Linked DNA regions of Homo sapiens: regions 1, 2 and 4 are each linked to region 3. Evidence: promoter capture Hi-C in 16 types of primary human blood cells and fetal thymus (Javierre and others, 2016). All regions are on one chromosome and are shown on one strand. The core of a region is centred on a gene start or on the middle of the fragment in contact, and the rest is flanking DNA. Distances in the headings are between cores, read along the strand shown. Region 1 overlaps KRT82 (keratin 82). Region 2 overlaps KRT86 (keratin 86). Region 3 holds the start of KRT18 (keratin 18). Region 4 overlaps KRT75 (keratin 75).

What was found. The method cuts DNA at HindIII sites, captures the fragments that hold promoters and counts their contacts. A CHiCAGO score of 5 or more calls a contact.
Region 1: a fragment that was not itself captured here is called in contact with the fragment with the promoter of KRT18 in region 3 in 4 of 17 cell types (erythroblasts, M0 macrophages, M2 macrophages and 1 more); the score reaches 6.9 in erythroblasts.
Region 2: a contact is called between a fragment that was not itself captured here and the fragment with the promoter of KRT18 in region 3, in 1 of 17 cell types (M2 macrophages). The highest score is 5.3, in M2 macrophages.
Region 4: a fragment that was not itself captured here is called in contact with the fragment with the promoter of KRT18 in region 3 in 1 of 17 cell types (M0 macrophages); the score reaches 6.5 in M0 macrophages.

Annotation. Positions count from the first base shown.
Region 1 is chr12:52,401,471-52,404,931 of GRCh38, forward strand. KRT82 (keratin 82) reads right to left here. Exons shown (of 9, transcript NM_033033.4): 2 at 2,231-2,439. Among named protein-coding and RNA genes, the nearest start is that of KRT82, 3.1 kb to the right of the region's middle. The HindIII fragment of the contact is 2,387 bases long and covers 478-2,864 here.
Region 2 is chr12:52,291,795-52,295,580 of GRCh38, forward strand. All of the region lies in intron 2 of KRT86 (keratin 86), which reads left to right. Among named protein-coding and RNA genes, the nearest start is that of KRT81, 2.2 kb to the left of the region's middle. The HindIII fragment of the contact is 3,486 bases long and covers 333-3,786 here.
Region 3 is chr12:52,947,074-52,950,818 of GRCh38, forward strand. KRT18 (keratin 18) reads left to right here and starts at 2,045. Exons shown (of 7, transcript NM_000224.3): 1 at 2,045-2,517; 2 at 3,255-3,337; 3 at 3,677-3,745. The coding sequence starts at 2,101. It also overlaps a transcript of KRT8 not described here. RefSeq lists silencers at 692-986, 1,744-1,863, 1,874-1,953, 1,994-2,043, 2,705-2,728 and 3 more, enhancers at 1,377-1,751, 1,440-2,033, 2,034-2,627, 2,451-3,650, 2,562-3,216 and 1 more, promoters at 1,633-1,712, 1,633-1,643, 1,721-1,803, 2,013-2,074 and a cis regulatory region at 1,721-1,803. The HindIII fragment of the contact is 10,122 bases long and covers 1-3,745 here.
Region 4 is chr12:52,427,304-52,430,822 of GRCh38, forward strand. It overlaps KRT75 (keratin 75), which reads right to left. Exons shown (of 9, transcript NM_004693.3): 5 at 3,238-3,402; 6 at 1,315-1,440; 7 at 953-1,173. Among named protein-coding and RNA genes, the nearest start is that of KRT75, 5.3 kb to the right of the region's middle. The HindIII fragment of the contact is 1,203 bases long and covers 1,570-2,772 here.

The DNA of each region.
Region 1 (3,461 bases), core at 421-2,920, 550 kb before region 3:
GGTCCAGCCCTGTCTTGGCAACTCTAGCTCCTCCACCCACTTGAGATGGATGAGTAGCCACTTGTCAAGTTTACTCTTCTCCCCATTCCTCAGGAACCTTCTCCCGCGATGAGTCCTCCCTGGGAGATCCTCCTTAAGGCTACCTTCATTCTCTCTTGCTGCTGAGGAGGTTCACTTCACCTAGTGGCCTCCCTTGGGAACGTAGAAGAAGGCTGTGCTGCTGGCCTAGCTGTTTTTTTCTGAGTCACTGAAATTCCCGGCTGACCCTGTGCATCCTCCTCGCTGGGAGGGTTCAGAGCCTGGCCTCTACCTGTGGTCCATTTGCAGAGGTAGCAATTATCCATCTTACCAGACCCACAGAGACAGCCAGGCTATTTCCTCAGGCTCCTTGGGGCTCCTCAGCCCACTCACCACTCCCCTAAGGCAGAGGGAATTGGTCAGGGGGTTCAGTTTGATAAGCAGCATCAATTCATTAAAAGCTTCTCTGCTTCATCATGTCCATCTCTCTTTTTTTCCAGCAGAACTGCTGCAGCAACGGCCCTGGACTCTGGAGCCTAGCCCCCTGGGTTTGAATTCTGGCTCTGTCCCGTGCAAGCTGTGGGCAAGTTGGGTAAGTGACTTGGCCTTTCTGCCTCATGATGCACAGCTTCGTCATCCATAGAATGAGGCTAACACTAGTTCTGCCTCACAGGGCTGTTGTGAGCTAACATGTCACATGCATTAATACCTGAAGAGCACTAGGACAGTGCCTGGTACAGGCTCTGTACTGTGAAAGTGTTTGCTATTATTCTTAAAATACCAGTTGGACCTCATCCTTCCCCGATTGTCTCACTTTTAAAAGCCAAAGTTCTCATCTTGAGCTGCAAATCCTGTCTCTTAATCTCACCTTGCTACTCACTCCTCAAGAAAGGCATTGCTTCTGCTGACAGGCTGGCCTCCAGCCCTCCCACAGCCTCACTGCATCTCACCTGTCACAGTCTGCTAGAGTTGTCCCCTTCACTTGGCAGGCCCTTCCTCTTTCTTGCCACCCATTCCTGTCCTTTCCCCATTTCCAAAATGGAGGATAATGCCATTGGAATGAGCCATTATCCTCCAAGGGCCAGAGCAAATCGCACCTCCTCCAGGAAGGCTTCCTGGACTCCCGCTCTTTCCCTTTCTTGGGATTCCTCTCCCTTCTTCTCTGTTTGTGTGTAGGTGCAGGTGGTCTGTGCACACTGGACTGGGAAAGAGTTAGCCTTTTTTCTTTCAATAGCACCCACACTTTCTAGCACAGTGTCTGGCATTGAGTAGGCATGTGGTTGACACCTGCAGTGAGTGTCCCCAACACGGCTCCACTTCACTGACCCAAACCCTTATGACCTGTTGCTCTCAGTATATTTGCCCTGTTTCTCCTCAATAGAAAGACACCTGTTTCAACTTGCCTGCCTCTAACATGCACTCCCATAGGACACTGGACTGTCACAAGGCACTGGATTCCCATGGGGCACTGGATTCCCATAGGACACTGGATTCCCATGGGGCACTCAGCCCGGGACCTGGTGAGAAAATTTATCTGGGCCTCAGCCTCTTGAAAGCACTTAATTACCATATGCTTATCAACCACCTACTCCAAGCTGTGAATTAGACCTGGAGCTCATCCTCAGGGGGAGCAAGTGTGGCAGAAGACAAAACAGGAACCACAAAGAACTGGGAAGTGAGGCAGAAGGAGCTAGAGCCTGATATGCAGGGAAAGGGCAGAAGGGCTGTGCAGGAAGCCAGAGTTGGGGGTGAGAGAAAAGGTGGGCTGTGGTAGCTTGGACATGGAGCAGAGAGATGCTGACAGGGGTGTGTCAGGCAGGAGAAGCAGCAGGAACAAAAGCCCGGAGGGAAGAGGCCTGGGGATCTGTCTGTGGAATAGGAAGTAGTTCAGGATCTGCAAAGGCACAACAGGCAGTTTCAGCTGGAAGCTGGAGCTCCAGAAGCCACACATGAAAGAGCTTATTTTACAGAGAGAGAGAGATCTGAGGGCTTTATTTAGGTGGAGTAGTGGGGAGAGAGATGGCAATACACAGTCTCAGAGCTCCTACCGTGTGCCAAGTGGGGTGCCCTGCTGACACCATCCCACCTAACTGTTCTGCCACCCAGTGAACTAAGTTTAGGCTTCCCATTTTATAAATGGGGAATCAGGGCCCAGACTGTTTCTGTCCCTTGCCCCAGGTCCACCAGTGGGGTAAAAGCAGCACTGACTCACTTTTTCTTGTAGCCCTCCAGTGCAGCCTGGAGGCTGCAGAGCTCTGACTCTAGCCTCACGCGGTCCCCGGACACACAGTCCAGCTGCCGCCGAAGGGCGCTGATATAGCCCTCGAAGATGGGCTCGATGTTGGTCTGGCAGCACCTCTGCTGCTGCATGAAGTTCCACTTGGTCTCCAGCAGCTTGTTCTTCTGCTCCAGGAAACGGACCTGCAGCCAAGAATGGAATATCACCAGGCAGCAGAGATCCTGGGGACCATGACTTAGAGAGGGCAATGGAATGAGTTTCTGCCCTGTCTCCCAACACATGGCTACCAGTGCACTAGAATTTGCAAAAATCAGGGTCTCTGCATAGACTGGCATCTGAGGGCATGTGTGTCTGTGTCTCCCCTGCCTGGGAGAGCCTAGTGGACCCCTACTTTCCACTCAGAGGTTGCGTGTTGTAGTGGATGGTACTTCTCCAAGAGGCCTAGGCAAGTCCTGTTTCAGCACTGCCTGCCTGCCTCTCTCTATCCTCGTGACCTTGACCAAGACATCCTGTCCCTTCAAGCCTCACTTTGCTTCCCAAAGCTCCTACCTGGGACAGTGTATGGGAAGGGACTCTGTTAACTTCATACTAGTGTCAGAGGATGTGAAGCTTGGGGGTCGAGGCTTTCCTTTATGACAGCCTAGGGACACTCAGGGGAAAAGACGGATCAAGGGACTCTAAGCTCTTTTCACCTACTGTGCTGCATCCTACATGGCTGTATCTGAAAAAAGTCCAGGTCCTAGTAATGTGGACAGCTGCTGGCCTCCTCCTCCCTTTTCGTAAAGTGGAAACTGAGATTAGGAGTTGAGTAAGTTCACCATGGCCACCCGGCTGGACATTGACTAAGGGAACGTGGTCTCCAGCCCTTGCTCTGGAATTTTCCACATCGTGCATTGTCTGTCAAGAAAACTACAGAAGTATCATTGCCCTACTTCTGGTCAGTGGCTGCATCAACAGGAGGCTCCCAGCCTAACAGAAGGTGGTGTGATGTTGTTGCTAATTCGGGCCCATGTTTTTGGAATAAGTTTATAGCCAGAACTTAATAAGCTTTAGAAATAAAACTGTAAGTTTGACTAAACAAGTTCCTCTGTGAAGCACTTTGGCATATATTACCTCCTCTAATCTCCCACCGTCATTCCTCCCCTTCCTCACTGGGCAGCACCGTCCAAAGGCCAAGAGGTGAATGGCTTGCCCGGGGATTCCG
Region 2 (3,786 bases), core at 826-3,325, 660 kb before region 3:
GAGGGAAGGGGAAGGCAGAGGAGAGGACGAGAAGGAGGAGTAGAGCCTGGCGAGGGGAAGAGAAGGGAGGCCAGGTGCTGGGAGAAACTGGGAGGAGGAGACCTGTGTGTTAAGTGTGATGTGGGGAGAGGGGTTTCAGGAAAGGCTGAGGCATTAATAAATACCATCTCTCATTTCCATCACAGCTGTGGCTAAAGTGCTCCTGAAACACAAATCTGGATTTCCCCATCTCCAGATTTTTCAGTTGGCAGCTGAAAACCATCTCACTTTTCCTACCATGGGAACAGTCAGCAGATTATTAAATATTTGTCTTTTATCTTTTTTATGATGAAAGCTTTCAAATATTGAGGAAAATTGGAATAATACAACACACATGCATTGATGCTCCACCTGTTTACCCCGATTCAACAGTTAACATTATACCATATTTGCTTTCACAGTTGCCCAATTATTTGAGTGGCAGAAAGCATGGCATGTCACCCTTAAATACATCAGCAGGAATTTCTTAAGAATAAGGAGAGTACTATTTTCTTATTCAGGAAAATTAACAATAATTCCAAAGCACCACTTACTATTCATCTCAGATTCAATTTTCCTAACTGTCCTAAGGATTTTAAAACTACATTTTACATAATTTAATTTGTGGCTCTAGCCCTTGTATTTTCTATAAATTAGAAAGTAAATCTTGAGCTGGGATGTCCAATTTGGTAGACAATAGGCAGATGTGGCTACTTAAATTTAAGTTAGTAAAAACTAAATAAGTTAAAAATCTAGTTATTCAGTTGCACTATCCACATTTTGAGTCCTCAGCAGCTACCTGTAAGTAGTGCCTACCTTATTAGACAGTGCATATAAAGAACACTTCTTTATTATTTATTTTTATTTTATTTATTGTTTATTTTCACATAAAATTCTGTTGGACAGCACTGGGCTAGAGGCTGGATTAGGTTTAAATTAAACATTGTTGGGACAGAATACTTCATAAAATATGCTGTGTAACTCTTATTATATCACCCCAGGAAGCATAAAATGTCAGATTGGTGATGCTAAATTGAATCACAGCTGGGCGCAGTGGCTCATACCTGTAATCCCAGCACTTTGGGAGTCTGAGGGGGGTGGATCACCTGAGGTCAGGAGTTCAAGACCAGCCTCAGTGGAGGAGTTTAAGACCAGAGATGGTGAAACCCCGTCTCTACTACAAATACAAAAATTAGCCCGTTATGGTGGCACGTGCCTGTATTCCCAGCTACATGGGAGGCTAAGGCAGGAGAATTGCTTGAACCCAGGAGATGGAGGTTGGATCACTTCAGTACATTTCCCCCTGTATTAGGAAAAACTGTATAGAGAATTAGAATTAGAAAGAACTGTGTAGAGAAACATGGATCTTAGTTTGATAAGAATATGTTTCTTTTTAATTGGTCACCTACTATGTGATCATCATTATATATCGTAAATGATCTCTAATTCTCACATCAATCATATGAAGTATGTGCCATTATCCCCATTTTACTGATGAGGAAACCAAGGGTCAGGGAGGTTAAATAACTTGCCCGAAGTCTCCCAGCTGGTAAGTGATGGAGCCAGGAGTTGCATTGCCTTCTCACTTATAAGCTGTGACAACCCCTTGACTTCCTAATCTTTGGATAAGTTCAAGAGGGTAGTGAAAGTTGTTTACAGGGGAGTATCTGTGAATTTAGGGTGTGAGAGAGTCCATCTAAGGAAGACGGGCAGAGTCAGAGTGGATTGGGATGGTTAGAACCATGAGGGGTCATTTAGGGACACACGGCGATGTGAGGCTACTTGGGGGCTGGGAAGGAGTATGAGTTAGATGTGCAGCACCCCGTGGCTAAGAATTGAAGGACGGGGTGGAAAACATCAGTTTTAGTTATTTGCATACCTCTGGTATATGGCAATACTTTGATAGACTGTACTATGTTCTACTTACCCAGTGAACCACCCCCCACTCCAATAGAGCAGGTCCTAGAAAAATTAGCTCGTAAAGTACAGAGGTTTGCATTAAATTGAGGAGAAGAAAAGAGAAGTGAAATGGCCTGGCTTATAGCCCCCTGGAGCTGCTATGCTTCAAGGGCAAAGGCAGGCAGAGTAGACTTAGGGAATGAGAACAGAAGCAGGATTGATGGGAAAAGAGAGGAGAGGAAAAAAATAGAAGAGAATAGGGCTCTCAGGGTATCTGTGCAAAACATTCAGAGTGTGGCCTTGTGCAGGACAAATGTGGGAGGTCACAGACTGTGTTGAGCTATCTGGTCACCCCAGAGAAGAGTATGGCACCTGCTGTCCCTTTGTGAGTTCAGGGCTGCTGGGCCAGCACTTCTGAAGCTCTTTGTACCCTCATCTGGAATTTGGGGCACTGCTCACAATTGAGCAGTGATGTCCCCAGTAAACCAGCGGTTGGGTGTCCTGAGGAGCACTGTGAGTCAAAGTACATCTCATCCACACTTCACCTTTTCTACCAGTATAACTCCTTATAAAAACAACATGTATAAACACAAGCTAATTACTAATGGCTGGTCCTTACTAAGCAATTTTAAAGATGTAAGAATATGAAAAATTCAAATGTGACACCATTTCATTAAACTTCAGGAATTAATTGCTGCTAATTTTTGAAGACCTAAAAGGACATTCAACTTGTTTTCTTCAGAGTGAAAAAACCTTGTCATGGGGAAGGGAGGAGGGGAGGGAAGGTGGCAGGGAGGAGGGGAGGGAAGATGGCAGAATCTCCACTCTATGGTCTTGGCTCTGGCAAGGTAAAGAGGATAGATTTTAACTTTGTGGAGATAACAATTATTTTTATTGTGAAATATTTCAACACAAAAAATGCATAGGTGGTTAGATCTGTAGCAATACCTACCACTTATAGGAAAAAATAGAACATGTGTGTATTTCAGGAGCTTCCTATGTACCTTGTTCTGATTGTACCCTACTCCTTCCTGGCCTAGGGTGACTCCTCTCTTGCATTTTGTGTTTAATTATTCCTTTGCTTTTCTTACAGTTTTAGAACCAATGCACCCATCTTGCAATGACATATTGTTTCTTTTTCCAGCTTTTGAACTTCACATAAATGGACTCATGTTGCATGGATCCTTGTGCATCTGGTTTCTTTCATTAAATGTTGCTTCCTGTAGCTGTCCTGTGTTCATTTTCACTGTGGATTGCACTCATTGCATGGCTATACCACAGTTTATTTGCCTTTCTACCTCGATAGCCACAAGGTTGTTTCCAGAGTTCTGTAGATTGAACAGAGCTGCTATGAACATCCTTTCTCATGTCTTCTGGTGCATTTATGCAAGAGTTTTTCTGGGGTATGTGGCTATTTTTTTTAAAGTTATGTCAGTAGTAGATGTTTCATGTAGAAAGCTATTTTATGACTATTCTTCCAAACTTAATAATAAAATCTTTTGATGTTCATCTTATACCACACTAGATACTATTTTAAGAGTCCAACATGCATTAACTCATTTAATTTTTACAGTTGCCCTCTGAGGTTGGTGTTATTATTCTCGTTTTATAGATGAGGACACTGAGGTCTAGGGAGGTTAAGGCTCAGGTTGCATGTTAGTAGCAGAACTGGAACCCAGAGCCTGTGTGTCTGATCCCAAAGGAAGGGATGCGTTTGTCCCATTGCACTCCCTTCTGTACACCATCGGCCATCAGTAATAAGTATCACACAGTAGCTGGTGTTTGTACATAACATAAAAACACAAACACTCATCTTGCCCCATGCCCTCTGCAGGGCCCTGCAGGTTGCTCTCAGGGTTCAGGGCCAGA
Region 3 (3,745 bases), core at 795-3,294:
CAAAGAACACAGCCAAATGTGTCATACCAGGCCCTGCCAGAAAAACGAGCTGCTGGAGCTGACAAACTTGAAGGCCAAACACCTAAGGGTTCCCCCCAACACTTCATTCAGCAGGGATGGTCATTCAGCTTCAGGGGGCAGGCAGCATGAAAGCCTCCCTACCTCCATCCTTCTCACACAGAGGCTGGGGAGAGCATCTTGGAGGATGCAGTCCCCTGGGGCCAGGCTTCTAATCCAGACAGCCCTTACAAGGGGGGACAGGGGAAGGACTGGCTTGGAGAAAAGTCCTAGAAAAGAGGGGAGGGGCACTGGCCACCAGGGCTGGGTCGCTGCTATGATGGTCCTAGGAGTGCCTGCCTGTCCTCTCAGGCCCCATGCGATGTAGGACACATTACTTTTATTTATTTATTTATTTATTTATTTTGAGTCAGAGTTTCGCTCTGGTTGCCCAGGCTGGAGCGCGACGGCACGATCTTGGCTCACTGCAACCTCTGCCTCCTGGGTTCAAGCGATTCTCCTGCCTCAGCCTCCTGAGTAGCTGGGATTACAGGCACACACTGTGCCTGGTTAATTTTTGTATTTTTAGTAGAGAAGGGGTGTCACCATGTTGGTCAGGCTGGTCTCAAATTTTTTTTTTTTTTTTTTTTTTTTGAGACAGAGTCTTGCTCTGTTGTCTAGGCTGGAGTGCAGTGGCATCGAACTCTTGACCTCAAGTGATCCACCCGCCTCGGCCTCCCAAAGTGCTTGGATTACAGGCATGAGCCACTGTGCCCGGCGATGTGGGACACATTATCATCTCTGTGAGAGATTTTTGGTCTCTTTTGTCACCGCCCTTCTCTCCCAGCTCCTAGAACTGGGCCTGGCTCACAGTAGGTGCTGAATGCATACTGGTTGAATTGTAAATGCTCAGGATTTGTTTAATTAAGGATGCAGGAAAGGTGATATACCGGTGTGCAGAAGTCAGGATGCATTCCCTGTCCAAATCACAGTGTTCCACTGAGGCAAGGCCCTTGGGAGTGAGGTCGGGAGAGGGGAGGGTGGTGGAGGGGGCTCAGAGACTGGGTTTGTTTTGGGGAGTCTGCACCTATTTGCTGAGTGAATGTATGTGTGTGTGCATTTGAGAGCACACCTCTGTATGATTCGGGTGTGAGTGTGTGTGAGGAAACGTGGGCAGGCGAGGAGTGTTTGGGAGCCAGGTGCAGCTGGGGTGTGAGTGTGTAAGCAAGCAGCTATGAGGCTGGGCATTGCTTCTCCTCCTCTTCTCCAGCTCCCAGCCTTTCTTCCCCGGGACTCCTGGGGCTCCAGGATGCCCCCAAGATCCCCTCCACAAGTGGATAATTTGGGCTGCAGGTTAAGGACAGCTAGAGGGACTCACAGGCCATTCCACCCGCACACCACCAGACCCCCAAATTTCTTTTTTCTTTTTTTTTTTTTTTTTTTTTGAGACAGAGTCTCACTCTGTCGCCAGGCTGCAGTGGCGCGATCTCGGCTCACTGCAACCTCCGCCTCCCAGGTTCAAGCGATTCCCCTTCCTCAGCCTCCCAAGTAGCTGAGACTACAGGCGTGCACCATCACGTCCGGCTAATTTTTTGTATTTTAGTAGAGAGGGGGTTTCACCATGTTGGCTAGGATGGTCTCGATCTCCTGACCTCGTGATCCGCCCACCTAGGCCTCCCAAAGTGCTGAGATTACAGGCGTGAGCCACTGCGCCCGGTCAAGACTCCCAAATTTCAAACTCGCCAGCACCTCCTCCACCTGGGGGAGAAGAGCATAATAACGTCATTTCCTGCCCTGAAAGCAGCCTCGAGGGCCAACAACACCTGCTGTCCGTGTCCATGCCCGGTTGGCCACCCCGTTTCTGGGGGGTGAGCGGGGCTTGGCAGGGCTGCGCGGAGGGCGCGGGGGTGGGGCCCGGGGCGGAGCGGCCCGGGGCGGAGGGCGCGGGCTCCGAGCCGTCCACCTGTGGCTCCGGCTTCCGAAGCGGCTCCGGGGCGGGGGCGGGGCCTCACTCTGCGATATAACTCGGGTCGCGCGGCTCGCGCAGGCCGCCACCGTCGTCCGCAAAGCCTGAGTCCTGTCCTTTCTCTCTCCCCGGACAGCATGAGCTTCACCACTCGCTCCACCTTCTCCACCAACTACCGGTCCCTGGGCTCTGTCCAGGCGCCCAGCTACGGCGCCCGGCCGGTCAGCAGCGCGGCCAGCGTCTATGCAGGCGCTGGGGGCTCTGGTTCCCGGATCTCCGTGTCCCGCTCCACCAGCTTCAGGGGCGGCATGGGGTCCGGGGGCCTGGCCACCGGGATAGCCGGGGGTCTGGCAGGAATGGGAGGCATCCAGAACGAGAAGGAGACCATGCAAAGCCTGAACGACCGCCTGGCCTCTTACCTGGACAGAGTGAGGAGCCTGGAGACCGAGAACCGGAGGCTGGAGAGCAAAATCCGGGAGCACTTGGAGAAGAAGGGACCCCAGGTCAGAGACTGGAGCCATTACTTCAAGATCATCGAGGACCTGAGGGCTCAGGTAAGGGGTAGGAGGGACCTCAACTCCCAGCCTTGTCTGACCCTCCAATTATACACTCCTTTGCCTCTTTCCGTCATTCCATAACCACCCAACCCCTACTCCACCGGGAGGGGGTTGGGCATACCTGGATTTCCATCCGCGCACCTAGCCACAGGGTCCCTAAGAGCAGCAGCTAGGCATGGGAGGGCTCTTTCCCAGGAGAGAGGGGGAAGGGGACAGGGTTGAGAGCTTTACAGAGGAAGTGGACAGCATGGAGGGAGGTAAGGAAAGGCCTGTAAAGAGGAGGAGACACTGGCTCTGGCGGAATGGGGACTATTGGAGGGTTAAGCGGATGTGGCTAAGGCTGAGTCATCTAGGAGTAAACAAGAGGCCTTCCTTTGGGAGGAGCCAATCCAGGGTGTAGGGGGCCCAGAGTGACCAGGTGCACTAGGGAAAAAATGCCAGGAGAGGGCCAGGAAGAGGACTTGTTAGTAGCGACTCACTTCTGGGCAGGCAGGCCAGCCAGCTAGCCAGCCTGCTGAGGCTTCCCAAGAGGGGCAGAGTGCTGGGATCTGGGAATCCAGGAAAGGAGGGAATGGGGTGGGGCTAGATGAAAAGGGATAGGTGTCCAGGGAGAGCCTCTGGCTATTCCTGGGACCAGGAAGTTTTCACTAGGATACATAACACTTTTTACACACTCACCCCACCCATCCCTGGCTTTCTATTCATGGAACAACCTCTCTCTACAATCCCTCCAGATCTTCGCAAATACTGTGGACAATGCCCGCATCGTTCTGCAGATTGACAATGCCCGTCTTGCTGCTGATGACTTTAGAGTCAAGTAAGTTTGGGGGCTAGAGAGCTGGGGGTCCAGGGGTGGAGCTAAGAAGGATCTGCTCCCCAGGCTGGGTCAGTTAGGGGCTCACAGTGGGATCCTGTTAGGTGTGGGTGGATGAGAGTCAGGGTCCATCAGTGTATTCATTTAACTGTTCATTTGTATAACCCCGTTTAAGAATACTGTCCTCCAAGTGCCAAGAATGGTGCTCAGGGGATTACCACCTAATTGCTGACTCAAGTTGCTGGTTTGCAATGGGCACAGAACTTCTCTTAGTAGGTGGCATGAGTTGAGAAGGTTCTGGATCAGAGATAGGGGCCCCTCTGATCACCTCCACTCCTATAGGTATGAGACAGAGCTGGCCATGCGCCAGTCTGTGGAGAACGACATCCATGGGCTCCGCAAGGTCATTGA
Region 4 (3,519 bases), core at 921-3,420, 520 kb before region 3:
TATTATCTTAGCAACCAAGTAACTTTGCTTTAGCATCTTCAGGACAGAACTGGCATTCATTCATAAACACATACTGAGAAACTTAACAAGAGGTAACAGCTGTTGATTACCTGTTACTTATATCACACCACTTAGTTCTCTCAACAACCCCATGAGGTAGGTATTATTTGCTCACTTTTATAGAGGGAGAAATGGAAGCTCAGACAAGTTAACTAACTTGCCCATAGTCGCAAAGCTGGACTTGAAGACAGATTCATCTGACACCAAAGCCTATGTCTTTGGCCATGAAACTGAATGATAGCTAACATTTATCGAACACGCTGTGTACCATGCATTGTTCTAAGAGCTTTGTGTGTATTCCCTTATTTTAACCCTTTTAATAATGTGAGAGTTTAGAACTATTGTTATTCACATTTTATTGGATGAGAACACTGAGAGGTGGAGAGGTTAAGTATCTGCTCTTGGCTACACAGCTCCTAACTGGCAGAGCACAAAGCTCCCATGAAGCTTTGCGGATCATGTAATCTGACCTTTTCATTTTATCATTGAAGAAATTGAGGGCCAGAGAAGGGAGACTGACTTTCCCAAGGTTATGTAGCTACTTAGTGTTAGATCTGTAAGCCCAAATCCTAGGACTGTTTGTTCTCAGCCCATGGCCTTTTAGACCACATTTCGAGAGCTGCCATGTAACCAAATGTCTCCTTTGGTAGAATTCAGTTACTTAGACCTGATCAGGTTTTAGGTTTCTATGGGGATGCTAACTGTAGTTGCACCTCAAATGATTTACTAGCCTGGAAGGAAATTAAAATTATTTTTTTGCCATAGCCCAATTCTGAACTGCATTTTCTTCCAGGAGAAGAAGGGGCTGCAACAGCCCGAGCCCCTAGGAATGCCCAGGAAGCTGAGGTGAGCTCAACTTGCTTTGAGGATGAAGTTGGTGCATCTGCCTCACCTGCACTCCTCGCCTTCCAGCAGCTTGCGGTAGGTGGCGATCTCCACGTCCAGGGCCAGCTTGATGTTCATCAGCTCCTGGTACTCACGCAGGAGCCGAGCCATGTCCTGCTTGGCCTTCTGCAGGGCCTCCTCAAGGTCCACCAGCTTGGCCCGTGCATCCTTGAGAGCCAGTTCTCCCCGCTGCTCTGCATCAGCAATGGCCGTTTGCAAGCTGGAACACTGTAAGGACAGGAGGAAGCCATGAGTCCTGCTGACAGCCCATGGAGGTGTGGTGCTTCTTGGGGAGGAGTTCTTAAAGATGGCAGAAAGGCCCAGAAGAAATGAGCATTTGAGGAGCTCTTGGCCCTGCCAAATCTTTACCTGCTTCTTGACGCTGTCAATCTCAGCTCTCAGCCTCTGGATCATGCGGTTCATTTCAGAGATCTCTTGTTTGGTGTTTCGAAGGTCATCCCCATGTCTGCCTGCGGTGACCTGCAGCTCCTCGTACTGAGAGAACCAGAGCAAACCCAGTCACTGAGTCAAATGCCTGGCCCAGGCACTCGCTGTGCACACAGACCCACCCTGGGTGCCACAAGCAGGCTCATTCATTCCTGGTCATTCACTCATTCCCCCTGAAGCTTACAGTTTATTGGGGGACATAGACATTAACTGAATTAGCATATTATCAAATGTATAGTTCCACACTAAGATAAGTGCCCTTAGGAAATGAACAGGGTCCTGGGAGAGTGTAATGAAGGAATCTGACCTAGATTTGGAAGTGGGAAGTGGTGGTCAGAGAAGTCTCTCCAGAGATGGAGATGCTTGAACTGTGGTCTGAAGGATGAGAAGGAGGGACCTAAGTGACCAGTTGTGGGGGAGAACATTCCAGACAAAGGAAACAGCCTGCATGAAGACTCTGGGTCAGGGAAGGAACATGGTGAGTTCTAGGAGTGAGACGGTGATTTGATCAAGGTCCCTGGGTAGTTCCTGGTCACAGAGCGTGCATCCAGACCAACTGTGCCCATGAATTTTGGTAGCCCTCCAAACACCAGTGCTGGGGAAACAGGGAGGAGATATGGGGGAATGGTGTGGGATGGTGCAGAGGCTGTGGAAGGCACAATTTTGAAGACTTTGTAAAAGTATTCCCAATCTCAGGTAGTTCTCAATCTAATGGTGCATATCCAGGACATGTGAATTTAAGAGCAATAATTACACCCTGTCTCCTCCAGCAGACTGAAGTGAAACCTACACCTTTCCCTGACAAAAGGAGATCCCCTGCCAGAGTCAAGATCTGTGGGGTTCTTGAAAGTGCTGAATAGCTCAGGTTCCCGCTTCTAGGTATACATGATTAAATGGAGCAACAACCCAACAACATGAGGAATCGTTTGCTATCGATTTCAACCACTTCACCTTGGGGTTAAGTGCATCATGTTTCCTTTCACCGTCAAGGCGCTGCCTCTGCCCTGTGGAACCCTGGTCCCTGCTACCCACCTTCCTTTCCACCACACTCCTGACCAGAAGGGATGAGGCAACGTATGGAGCAGGGAAAGAGTTGGAACCTGCTCGTAGGTGAGAAGCTGCCCCAAGAGGGGTCTGGATTTGACAGGGAGCTGGTATCATGGGTCAATTGTACCCCGCAAAGCCAAACTTCTTTGCGGCTGTCTGAGCTCTGGGCAGTAGCTGTTTGTGTTTATCCCAGCCTTCCTCTTCCTGACATAAACTCCCTTGCTTGTTCTTGCCTGCCAGCTCCTTGTTCAGCCTTAAACCTCTCCCCACTCCTCAGCAATCTTTTGTCCCTCATGGCTTCCCAACTGTACAAAGCCCCCATGTCTTCCTGGAAGCTTTTTATTCATGCTATCTTTTCCCTTCCATGATTGTCCATTCACTTCATGGCCTCCCAGAGCTTGGGTTCTCTGTTTGCAGTTTATTTATTTGCAACCCTGTAACCCTGATTGGCATACAGCAGGAGCTCAGAAAATATATAGAGAATAAATAAGCCTTTTAGAAACTGCTTCATGACTGTGTCTCGGTTGTCCTGGTGTCTCACCCTGCTCCCACCCAGATCTTGAGGAATGTGGGGCCAGTGGATGTCCTGAGCTCCCAGCATTGGGCTGACCATGTATTAGTGTGTCTGGTTCGGTTTCCACATGCATTTCAAGCTAAGTTGTCATAGCATCAAAGACATGCCTGCTAAGTTGAAATAAACGAATGTGCTCACACGTTTCCTGAGGCTGAGTTAAGTGATAATGTGGAGCCTCAGAGAACACTAACCCTGGAACCTCTCATGGAGGTGTCCATGCTCACCTTGGTCTGGTACCAGGACTCAGCCTCGGCCCGGCTGCGGTTGGCAATGTCCTCGTATTGTGCTTTGACCTCGGCGATGATACTATCCAGGTCCAGGTTGCGGTTGTTGTCCATGGACAGCACCACGGATGTGTCACCGACCTGGGTCTGCAACTGGGACAGCTCCTGCAGGGCAGTAAACTCAGCATCACCAAGGCATAAGATGAAGAATCTTAAATCTTCGTGGTTAACTACCCATCTAGGTCAGGAATCCTTTCCTTGGTATTCCTGGCAGATTCTCCC